Regions from separate parts of the Homo sapiens genome. Here all the other regions are linked to region 2. The links are contacts of gene promoters, found by promoter capture Hi-C in blood cells and fetal thymus (Javierre and others, 2016). All regions are on one chromosome and are shown on one strand. Each heading gives the region's core, a stretch centred on a gene start or on the middle of the fragment in contact. The rest is flanking DNA. Distances are from core to core; before and after follow the strand shown.

Region 1 (2,823 bases), core at 79-2,578, 1.1 Mb before region 2:
GTAATAGGACAGTATACGAACAGAAATGTACCAAAATTAATGCAGTCACCATGTAAATCCCTGAATAACCAGACTTCACAGTCTTAATATTTTTAATCGAGTTACCCGGATTCTCTATGTGTACTTATTTGTAAAGCCCAACAACCTAGCCTTCCCTCCCCACACACAATTATTTAACTGCTTTAAAACTTTCGCTGCATTGTCTCTATGTAAAACAAAACACTCAGATTCATTCTTTTGAAAATTCAGTTGTGACAAAATTGTTTCGAAAGGATTACATTCTGGGAAATAAATAAAAACACTTTGAGAAACTGTTCCTGATTCAGACCGCACCCCCTTAGACCAGCCAAGTTACGGCTCCCCTAGGGTCATCTTGAGTAAGTGTTTGCTTTCCTCGCTCTGCTAAAAAGACGGATCTCTTGGGAATCTCTCAAGGAGTAGGACGGTCGTCACCACAGGCTCTGAGCTGAAGAGGTTAATAGGTACCGTGTATTTTCTAGAAGAAGGGCAGGAAAATGCCCTTCACTTCACGTAGGCCACGGTCATGACCACAAAATGAAGGGAAGCCGAGACTTCAAGCTACGCCAGTCGGAAGGCCACAGTGGTGGCGAGGAGGCCTCAGGGGGGCAAAATTGGGAAAGGGAGAGAGGTGAAAGGGGACAAGAGGAAATTCAGGAGCCCGACTAAGACCGTCGTGTTGGGGGAAAGATCACTCCGCTATGAAGAGGAAAGGCTACTGCTAGCAATGACGAGTCGTCAAAAGTGGAGAGGAAAACTACCGGCTTACAAGAAGAGCCAGGACCGGCGGACGAGACGATGGCGGACCCCAGTAAAATAGAGCCGTTGTCCTTCAGGAAATGGGGGAGGGTGAGCGAAGAGGCCGCGGCGCGCGGGGGCGAAGGCGGCCGGGGAGGGCCGCGGAGGGCCCAGGGCCCCAGGAGCCGTGGGGTGGGGGCAGCGAGCGCGAGCGGGGCGGCTGGGGAGCCCCGCACCAAAGCCAACGCCCAGACGGCCTTGAGGATGCAGACTCGGAGCCGGGGGCGTGAGGCCTGCGGGGAGGCGCCCGCCGGGCCGGGGAGGGGCAGGGGGTGCGGCCGTCCCCCTGCAGGTCGCTCCCCGTGACGCCATCTTGGATCGGTCCAGCTCCCGCAAACCGGCTGCGAAGCGACGAAGCTCACCTCGCCTGAGCCCCCGGCCGACCCCACTCACCTGGGGACGGGCGGCGGCGGGCGCGAGGCTGCGGGTGCGAGGCGGCGGCGTACCGAGCTCCCTCAGCGCTTTGCTCCCAGCCCCGCTCCACTCTGCGATAGCGGCTAGGCGACAGCTCCACCGGAAACGGCCTGGCCGCAGCCAATCAGCGTTCGGCTACTGACGTCAATGCGCCTCGCTCTGGCCAGAACCGTCGCCTTAGCAACCTTAAGGGCGCAACAGCCCCAGTTCCTCCCCCCTGGTCGCTCTTGGAAGGACCCTCACTCTGCGGTCGTTCGTCTTCCGCCATTCTTTCCATCTTACTCGTCCCTTATCCACAGCAGTTTCCTCACGCCCGCCACTTCTCCTTTCCGCAGTCTCCCTAGCCCGGTTCTCTCCTCCTTCCTGCTCACCTGCCCCTCCTTACCTGTCCCTCTCTGGGTGTCTTGGGTCGCCTTTGTTCCTCCGCCTGCTCTTCGCTCTCTCTCCGCGCAGCTATCGTGCGCTTCCCTCTCGTCCCTCCGCTCCTCTGTCCACCCCACTCTCCCTCCGGCCTCCCTTGACGCCTCTGCCTTTTCTCCCTCCTTTCCACCCCCTCCCTGGCCGACCCACGTGGGGCGTCTCAGATGACAGGTGGGCGACTCCTCCCCGCAGCCCCTGCAAGGGAGGGCCCCGGGCCGGGGCGGGGAGAGTCCTGTCGCTGCCAGCCCCCGGAGGAGGTGGCGGCCCCCGCGGATCTGCAGCAGCTGCGCTGCGGGGCCGAGCGCGGGCGGATGGCCGGGATGCGCTCTCCGGGCCGCGCATCCTGTGCCCGGCCAGCGCCGCCCGGGCCCCGGGCTCAGGTCAGTCATCCGGTCCAGGAAACCTGAGCCCTGCCGAGTCTCCGCTGGGGCCGCTCTCCCCCGCCGGGGGTGCTGTCGTCTGTGCAGGCAACACCGTCCCTGTGGAAACCAGGCACGGGAAAGGACTTTGTCAGGGTCCAAGAGGAGGCCTGAGTCCTTCTAGAACCTGAAGTGCCCCCCCATCACTCCTGACCTCACAGAGGGAGAAGTGCAGAGCGTGCAGATTGTCAAAAATGCCCTGTGACCCAACAAGAAATCGCAGCTGTCCAGACAAGCTGCACTAATGGGGAAAATTCGGAGGAAAAGCGACTTTACTCTTTCAGCCATTTTTTTTTTCCATCAGAGTATCTGTCTAAGGAGGAAGAAAAGGGAGACGGTACAATTTTAGACACATCAAGTCTGTAACTCAATAAAGAAGGCCCATCAAGGAAACATGTCCAAGTGTCTGGCTAGGGGCTGCTTTAGTAGCATTGTATATATTTCTAGGGCCGTGTGCTTAAAATTCATAATGGATTCAACACAATACAAAAAAGCAAAATACACACATATGCAAGTGTCCAGGAGCTGTTGTAGTAACATTGTATATACTTCAAGGGCTGTATGTTTAAAGTAAATCATGAACTCAACACAATACAAAAAAGTAGCTCAATAGTGTTTATATTGATTCCAGATTGAAATGATAATATTTTTGATATATTAGGTAAAATATTAAAGTTAATTTCACTTTTGTTTTTTAATTCTTAGTGTAGCTATTAAAAAGTTTAAAGTTACACAGATGGCTCCCATTATATTC
Region 2 (2,843 bases), core at 173-2,672:
AGTGGCTCACACCTGTAATCTCAGCACTTTAGGAGGCCAAGGTGAGAGGACTGCTTGAGGCCAGGTGTTTGAGACCAGCCTGGGCTACGTAGTATAGCTGCTATCTCTACAAAAATAAAAAAAAGGTAAAATTTGTTTCTCCTCTACATTACAGATTATAGCTGAGATATTGTCTTATTTTGCTTGTAGATGGTTTATATTTTCCCTGATTTTCATTGCAGTTAAAACAAACAAAGAGATCTATTCAGCATCTATAAAGCGATGTCGGCACTAATTAAATTGAGAACCACTAACATAATAGATAAACCACTCCAAGATTTCCCGTTTTCCTGTTTGCTTTCCAGGCTGCTGTTGACCATATGCCCACACCAAACACAACCTCATTCCCATTTTCTTTACTTTTCTTTTTCTTTTTTTTTTTTTTTTTTGAGACGGAGTCTTGCTCTGTCGCCCAGGCTGGAGTGCAGTGGCGCAATCTCGCCGGCTCACTGCAAGCTTCGCCTCCTGGGTTCACGCCATTCTCCTGCCTCAGCCTCCCGAGTAGTTGGGACTACAGGTGCCCGCCACCACGCCCGGCTAATTTTTTGTATTTTTAGTAGAGACGGGGTTTCACCGTGTTAGCCACGATGGTCTCGATCTCCTGACCTCATGATCCGCCCGCCTCAGCCTCCCAAAGGGCTGGGATTACAGGCGTGAGCCACCGCGCCCGGCCTCATTCCCATTTTCAAGGATCCTAAGCTTTTTTAAGATCTCAAGCTATTTTCTAGGGACCAGCATGGTATGAATGATAACACATAAAACGTGTAAGGCCCTTAAGAATTGAAATTGTCTCACATGTCATCTAGTTTGATGCTCACGAAAATCCTATAGGGATAACAAATATGTCTTTTTAACTTTTCTTTTTACCAACTTAGTGGATTACAGTGAAAATGAAAACAAAGAGAAAAACCACTTTGCTTATTAAATGACTGAGCTGCTGCCATATCTTCTCTTAGGAGCTTTCAGAGATCCCACAGAGTAAGCCACCAAGATTCTCAAGTAGATAAAACCTTAGAATTTTCTATTTTAAGGTTTATTTTAGCCTCCTGATGTAGAGATGAGAAAACCGAGATCCAAGAAAAGCGACTGGCCACGGTCCTGAGAAATCATATTTCGAAGCAGGGGTGTAGGGATATATGAGATGGTCTGTTCTATTACACTCGCTTTTCTCATCGCAAATTTTAGGTAAAAAGTCTGATGTTCCCAGAGACAAAACCTGACGCTGCAGGCTGGAGTGGCGAGTCCCGCCCCGCGCGCCTCAAGCCCCACCCCCAGGCTGTCCGCGGCAGTGCCTGAGTGGCAACCAGCGCCGGGGACCTCGAGGGGTCCTTTGCGTGGGCTCCCGATGGGCTGCCTGAGCGGGTGCGCGGGCAACTTCCGGTGTGGGTGACGAGTGGTGGCCGAAGCAGGGGGACAGCAAGGGACGCTCAGGCGGGGACCATGGCGGACGGCGGCTCGGAGCGGGCTGACGGGCGCATCGTCAAGATGGAGGTGGACTACAGCGCCACGGTGGATCAGCGCCTACCCGAGTGTGCGAAGCTAGCCAAGGTGAGGAGAGGCCGGCTGGCTGTTGGCGGGCGCCAGGGGCTGAGTCACGGCGCGGAGCCTGCTTAGGCCTCAGGGGGCCTGCGGGCTGGAGCGTGCACCCCCCAATGCCTGTCCAGCCCTAGTTGGGCCTGCACGAGTGGGAGACCCCAGGTCGGCCCGGCCAGGGCTGCGGAGTACGCCAGCGCCTATAGCTTCCCAGACCCTCCCCAAAACAGATGGTCACTTCCCTCCGTGGGACTTAGGGCTCCGTTTAACTTTTTGCCGTTTCTTGGATGCTGTTTAAGTGATATTTACCTTAGTAGTTTCCCAGGGGTTAAGGCCGCTTCAGTATTAAGGCTAGATCAGAGAGTTTCGTTCTGTTGCTGTTGCTCAATCAATTTATGTCGTTACATCGTTTGTGGATCATGGCTATGTGCCTGGTCTTTGGCCAGGAGAAGGGGCAGGAAAGTGATAGTACGAAGATGACTAACACAGGACCCTGTCCTTTAGGAGTTGATGTACGTGATGAATTAGTCAAGTCATGCATGGTGGTGAGGGCCATACAAGGGGAAAGTGTTACTGGAACACCGAGAAGGAAGCTATGCATTCTTAATGGTGCCATAAGGGAAGGTTTTACAGGAAGGCTGACGTTTGTATTGGGTCTTGAGGAATTAGTAAGATTGAGGTGGGGTGGAGTCATTACTGAAGACGGAACTACAGAAGTAAAGACAAGTAGGCACTATAAGAGTTTAACGGGCTTTCCAAGAAACAAGGATGGAGAAAGGTGATAAAGTTGGTACGTATGTATATCTTAGGTTCAGTATGCTTGCTGAGGGGGAGCCACAAATTCATTAAGAGCTTTCTAGCAGCTAGCATCAACAAACATCAGTTACATAAGGGTGGGAAAACTCAGCCGCCTCCAATGCCAGACAGATAACAATAACTGATATTTGTTGAGTAGTTTCTGCAGTGTCAGGCACCGTGCTTACATGCACTAAGCCATTTGATCCTCACCTCAGCCCTATGCGATGGCTATTACTATTATCCTTATTTTACAGGTAAGAAAACTTGGGCTAGAAAAAGTTGAATCACATGCCCCAAGATCATACAGCTAGTAAAGTGGTGAAGCCAAGAAGCAAACCCAGGCAGACCGATTCTAGATTCTGGAGCTGGTGCCCTCACACACCATGCTGTCCTGCCTAGAAGCCTATTGTAGTGAAAACCTGAACTTTTTTTTTTTTTTTTTTTGAGACGGAGTTTCACTTTTTTCACCCAGG
Region 3 (2,750 bases), core at 186-2,685, 1.1 Mb before region 2:
GTCTCGCTTTGTCGCCCAGGCAGGAGTACAGTGTGCGGCGGCACGATCTCGGCTCACTGCAACCTCCACCTCCCGGGTTCAAGCGATTCTCCTGCCTCAGCCTCCCAAGTAACTGGGACTACAGGCACGTGCCACCACACCCAGCTAATTTTTGTATTTTTAGTAGAGACGGGGTTTCACCGTGTTGGCCAGGCTGGTCTCGAACTCCTGACCTCACGATCCATCCGCCTCGGCAATGTCAGTTTTATTAACTTCCTGCAGCAAGAGGGTGTGCACATCAAGTGAACCATGAGGCATCTCAGTAAGAGGCTGTGGGAAAGGGCTTTTTGCCAGGTTTGTGTTAAGTTATGCTAGGAAGGGAAAGGTAGAAGAAACAGGAATCAGGTCAGGAATGGATGTGTTGTGAAGCAGGTGGTTTCATCATCGGATATCTCAGAAATTTTTGTTCAGCAAGTGGAGAAATCGAGTGGGTCTGGGAGAGGCTTTGATAAGAAAGGATTAGATATGCCAATGTCAGTAATTTTGCAGCTACAGTGTGGCCTTGGGTTAAACACAGTTTTCACCTGGCCTTGTGCTGGCCTTGTTTATGACTGTTGGGAACATTCCAGTCTGCTCATCTGAGCTGATTTCCATTTTCTCAGGTTCCCACATGAAGTAGTGGGTGTTCCTGGAAGAAAGGGAATCTATCTTTAAATAAGCTTGGAAAGTACTTGGGAAACAATGTTAAATAAACATAATGCTGGGCTTTCTGGAGACTTGAACGTGCTAAAGTGAATTGTGAATCTCCCAAGACACCTTCAATTTCTTTTCAACACAGCTGTCTGTGTCGAATTCCAGTGTAAGTCAGAACTTCCAGTGATTTCTCAGGTCACTCTGACCTCTTTGCCTGTAGTTCTCCCCACTCTTCTCCCCACTCCAGCGGCCCTGCCTCCTCGCTGCTCTTTGAGCTTTTTCCCATATGACTGCATAACCTGCTCCCTTTTCTTCCTGAGGTCTTGTTCAAATGGAAATTTTCAGTGGGGCCTTCCCTGCCCACCCTATGCAAAATTTCTCCTCCCTACACCCCACACTCCCAAACACACTTTCACTGCTATACATTTCTTAGCACTTATCACCATCTAAGATACTATACATCTCATTTTTCTTGTTAATGGTCTCTCTGCCCAGGTGGGCAGGGGTTTTTATTTATTTTGGACAGCGTCATATCCCTAGAACCTGGAGCCATGACCGGCACACAACAGGCACATGATAAAAATTGGTCAAATGAATGAATGGATGAATGAATGAATATACAAACTCCTTCCAAACTTCTCCTCCTTCAGAGGAAGTGGTGAGGGAGGCTTCTGTGTTTTCCATTTATAGACAGTAAAGAGGTTTTGGAAAAATACACAAGGGAGCCTCAGAGACTTTCTTTTGGGGCTTTAGGACTGGCTACCCATATCTTATCACTCAAGCCAGTTTTTCCTGAGGTGTCCCCCCAACCATCCTAGAACTAAATCATACAGACCACTAGATGGCACTGTTCACCAAGAATCTCGGGATTCTTAGCCACGCCCCTCTCACCCTAAGCCCAAAGCCTTTGAATCCACCTTCTTCCCAGGGGTGACTGATTCTAGAGAATGATTACCACTCCCTGCACCACCGCTAGACTAGAAAGAAACCTAAAGTCGTACAGCACGTTCCAACAAGCCATGCCCAGCCAGGAGCACAGGCTAACTCTCTGCTTGGGAGCAAAGGACGTTTTTGAATATTTCTAGATGTACCCTTGGTAAATGTAGGCAAAGTGCTGGTGCCCTTTGAAGAGCTGCAGGACTCCACACTCTCCCCCTTGTACTTGGCCCGTGGCCCTCTTGGCACAATTCTGCCTCTATCTCTTCACCCCTTGCTCCTCTGTCCCTTCATAGGATGAAGCACAGGTTAAGATGCCAATTCTATTTCCAGCCTTGAGCCAAAGCAGTCCAAGAGACAGCGTGACAGGCAACCTGGGCACCCAGTGGAAGGGACAGAATACAAACTACACCTGCATCAAAAACTGTCCTAGGGCCTTTGGCAACTTACTCGACAGTCTCCACTTTGGCATATGCAGCTGCCTGATGGGGATAAACATTCCTAGACCAGATAGATGTGGTTAGCGTCACATGAGAAGATCTATGACGCTCCAAACCAAGCTTTCTATAAAGCTTGGTCTTCTATTTTCAAGTATCGCCTATAATTATATTCTAAAATTTAAGGCAGGGTGATTGGCTGACCTGCTGAACCCGTCTCTGTGTTCTTGACCAGTGCGAAGATGCCTCGGTGAACAAAAACACCTTGATTGAACCTCTCTGCACTGGCATGGGTAACAGACTCTCAGCTCCAAGGACATTAGCAAAAGCACTTGTAGAAAGCAACTGTCTTCGTGATCATCAGCCAATCAGCAAGCATTTATTGAGAACCTGTAATTCACCTTGGTGTTTTAGGAAGGCTATTCTGGAGGCAAAAATAAGACAGGTGAGGGGAGAGAATGAAGATTAAGACATCAATTCACTCTTTCATGAAATAACATTTTTCCTGACTCTTGGGAAGGAATATATAAGTCAAGGAATATTAGAAGTGTTGTTAGTTTTTGCTCCCTGTCTCTCCCCTTTTAATCAATAAATCCAGAAATAATGGTTCCATTTGGGGGACAAGGGCACATGATAGGGCCTCTTCATTCACTGCAGCCATGCTATCTCACACACACTGTCTATAATTAGAAACAGAAAACCCAG
Region 4 (2,901 bases), core at 68-2,567, 1.1 Mb before region 2:
TATATATACTATCTATATATATAGATATACTTTCCATATATATATATTTTTTCCATTTATATATATATATACTTTCCATATATATATACTTTCCATATATATATATATACTTTCCATATATATATATACTTTCCATATATATATATACTTTCCATATATATATATATATATACTTTCCATATATATATATATATACTTTCCATATATATATATATACTTTCCATATATATATATATATATATATACTTTCCATATATATATATATATATATATATACTTTCCATATATATATATATATATATATATATATATATATATATATATACTTTCCAAGATGGGTGCTCACTTAGTATTTACCCAACCTCTATCCTATTTCTCCTAGGAAAGCTACCTAAATCTTTAACCGATAACTTCAATCTGGTCAGCCCCACCTCTGGGGTTTAGAAATAGCCCAAACTTATTCAGACAAGCCTTAGGAAAAATCTGAGCATTTTTTTTCAAATTTTTAAAAAATAAAAAATAAATATTTTAAAAATTGTGTAAAGTGCTTTACACACACAGCTTCAAGACAAGCCCAATTCAGACACAGGATAGAGAAAGAGCCCTCTGAAAGCTTATTTCTCACACCATATCCACCAGGGAGCCTGACATCCAGTTCCATAGTTTCTTCACTCCAGAGCTCAGGTCTAAAAGGTGACCTCTTTATAGAACCATGTGGCAGAGGGAAAGGAATGATGGAGAAGCCCACGCTGGCTCTTTTTTTTTTTTTTTTTTTTTGTTTTGAGATGGAGTCTCACTCTGTTGCCCTGGCTGGAGTGCAGTGGCATGATCTCAGCTCACTGCAACCTCTGCCTCCCAGTTCAAGCAATTCTCCTGCCTCAGCCTCCCAAGTAGCTGGGATTACAAGCTTGAGCCACATCATCCAGATAATTTTTTTTGTATTTTTAGTAGAGATGGGGTTTTGCCATGTTGGTCAGGCTGGTCTGGAACTCCTGACCTCAAGTGATCCTCCCACCTCGGCCTCCCAAAGTGCTGCGATGACAGGCATGAGCCACTGCACCCAGCCCCATGCTGGCTCTTAAAGCTTCTTCCTGAGAGGGACACTTGCCACTTCCTCTCTCATTTCATAGGTCAAAGCAGGCCAGAAGCCAATCAGGTTGTATATATGGGACAGAGAAGCCTTGCAATGGCGTGCAAGCTCCTTAGATCTGGCCACTGTCAGACTCAGACCTCAGCTCTTCTCTCCTGCTCCCACCTTTCTCCAGCCACAGACATCCTGGCTGTTGCTCAAATAAGCCAGGCCCACCTCGATCTCAGGGCAGGCTGTTCCCTCCACCTGAAACATAGACCTCCCCAAACAGCCTCAGGGCTCACTGCCCCACTTCCTTGGGTCTGTGCTCAAAAGCCACCTGGCCATCTTCAAATTGCAACTCTCCCCATGCCACCCCCCTACTCCCCTGTGCTTCATATTTATCACGATCTGACGTATTACATGAATTTCTCTAGTCTGTTTATTCCCTCTCTCTCTCTTTCATACAAACGTAAGCTTCATGAGTGCATTTTTTTTATTTATTTTTGAGTTTTTTTTCATTATTATTGTTGTTCACTGTTATGCCTCTGATACCCAGAACACTATCTGGCACAAAGAAAATGCAAAATAACCACAAAACCACTTTTCTTTCCTTTTTCTTTTTTCTTTTTTTTTTTTGTCTGAGATGAGGTCTTACTCTGTCGCCCAGGCTGGAGTGCAGTGGCGTGATCTCAGCTCACTGCAACCTCCGCCTCCTGCTTCAAGCCATTCTCCTGCCTCAGCCTCCTGAATAGCTGGGATTACAGGTGCCCACCACCAGTCCCGGCTAATTTTTGTGTTTTTAGTAAAGATGGGGTTTCACGATGTCGGTCAGGCTGGTCTTGAACTCCAGACCTCAAGCAATCCACCCGCCTTGGCCCCCCAAAGTGCAGGGATTATAGGTGAACCACCGCGCCCGACCCCAAACCACTTTTCCAATAAGTCAATAATGAATGAATGAATACAGAAAAATTATTAGCACAGGAGAAAGTCAGGAAACGTTGGCTTAAGTTATAACTATATGCCTCTCAATATATACCATAGTGTTAGGCTAAGTAAGTATTGATTAATTAACTTGGTAGCCTTCATTTGAAAACACTAGAATGTAAAAATGTACCTGGAGGTAAAGTTTATTTCCCAGCAGTTGAATTATAATGTTGGTTATCTACATTTTTCTGATTTTTATTAACAAAACCATACTTTGAGATTTCCCTATGTGCCAGGCACTGTGCAATGTGTGTACATGAATGTCTTATTAAATTCACATAACAGGCCGGGCGCAGTGGCTCACGCCTGTAATCCCTGCACTTTGGGAGGCCGAGGCGGGCGGATCACGAGGTCAGGAGTTCGAGACCAGCCTGGCTAACATGGTGAAATCCCATCTCTACTAAAAATACAAAAATTAGCCGGGTGCGGTGGCAGAAACCTGTAATCCCAGCTACTGGGGAGGCCGAGTTGGGAGAATTGCTTGAACCTGGGAGGCGGAGGTTGCAGTGAGCCGAGATCATGCCACTGCACTCCAGCTGAGGTGACAGAGCAAGACATCATCTGAGAAAAAAAAAAATCCGCACAACATCGACTTTGGGAGGTAACTAGCATTAGTATACCCATTAACACTTGGGTACCTGAGGCACAGGCATATTAGATGAGTGACTTCTGTAAGGTAATGCAGCTGGTTAGCAATGGAACCAGATTTTCAGCTCAAGTTTCATTCCAGAGCAAAAGTACACAGTCACACTATATTTTCACTTTCTACAATGAGCATAATTTATTTTTATAATAGGAAGAGGGAAGAGAAAGCTAATTAGGAGAAGGAGAAGGAGGAAGGAGAG

What was found. The method cuts DNA at HindIII sites, captures the fragments that hold promoters and counts their contacts. A CHiCAGO score of 5 or more calls a contact.
Region 1: a contact is called between the fragment with the promoter of PRKAR1A here and the fragment with the promoter of PSMD12 in region 2, in 1 of 17 cell types (total B cells). The highest score is 5.3, in total B cells.
Region 3: a contact is called between a fragment that was not itself captured here and the fragment with the promoter of PSMD12 in region 2, in 2 of 17 cell types (total B cells and fetal thymus). The highest score is 7.3, in total B cells.
Region 4: a contact is called between a fragment that was not itself captured here and the fragment with the promoter of PSMD12 in region 2, in 1 of 17 cell types (naive B cells). The highest score is 5.2, in naive B cells.

What each region holds. Positions count from the first base shown.
Region 1 is chr17:68,510,935-68,513,757 of GRCh38, reverse strand. It overlaps PRKAR1A (protein kinase cAMP-dependent type I regulatory subunit alpha), which reads right to left and starts at 1,328. Exons shown (of 11, transcript NM_002734.5): 1 at 1,210-1,328. RefSeq lists silencers at 858-1,367, 1,788-2,147 and enhancers at 1,438-1,527, 1,281-1,854. The HindIII fragment of the contact is 13,629 bases long and covers 1-2,823 here.
Region 2 is chr17:67,365,156-67,367,998 of GRCh38, reverse strand. PSMD12 (proteasome 26S subunit, non-ATPase 12) reads left to right here and starts at 1,422. Exons shown (of 11, transcript NM_002816.5): 1 at 1,422-1,587. The coding sequence starts at 1,480. RefSeq lists enhancers at 1,217-1,526, 1,547-1,606. The HindIII fragment of the contact is 3,672 bases long and covers 741-2,843 here.
Region 3 is chr17:68,461,930-68,464,679 of GRCh38, reverse strand. It overlaps a transcript of PRKAR1A not described here. Among named protein-coding and RNA genes, the nearest start is that of WIPI1, 5.8 kb to the right of the region's middle. The HindIII fragment of the contact is 1,470 bases long and covers 701-2,170 here.
Region 4 is chr17:68,486,611-68,489,511 of GRCh38, reverse strand. It overlaps a transcript of PRKAR1A not described here. Among named protein-coding and RNA genes, the nearest start is that of PRKAR1A, 24 kb to the left of the region's middle. The HindIII fragment of the contact is 462 bases long and covers 1,087-1,548 here.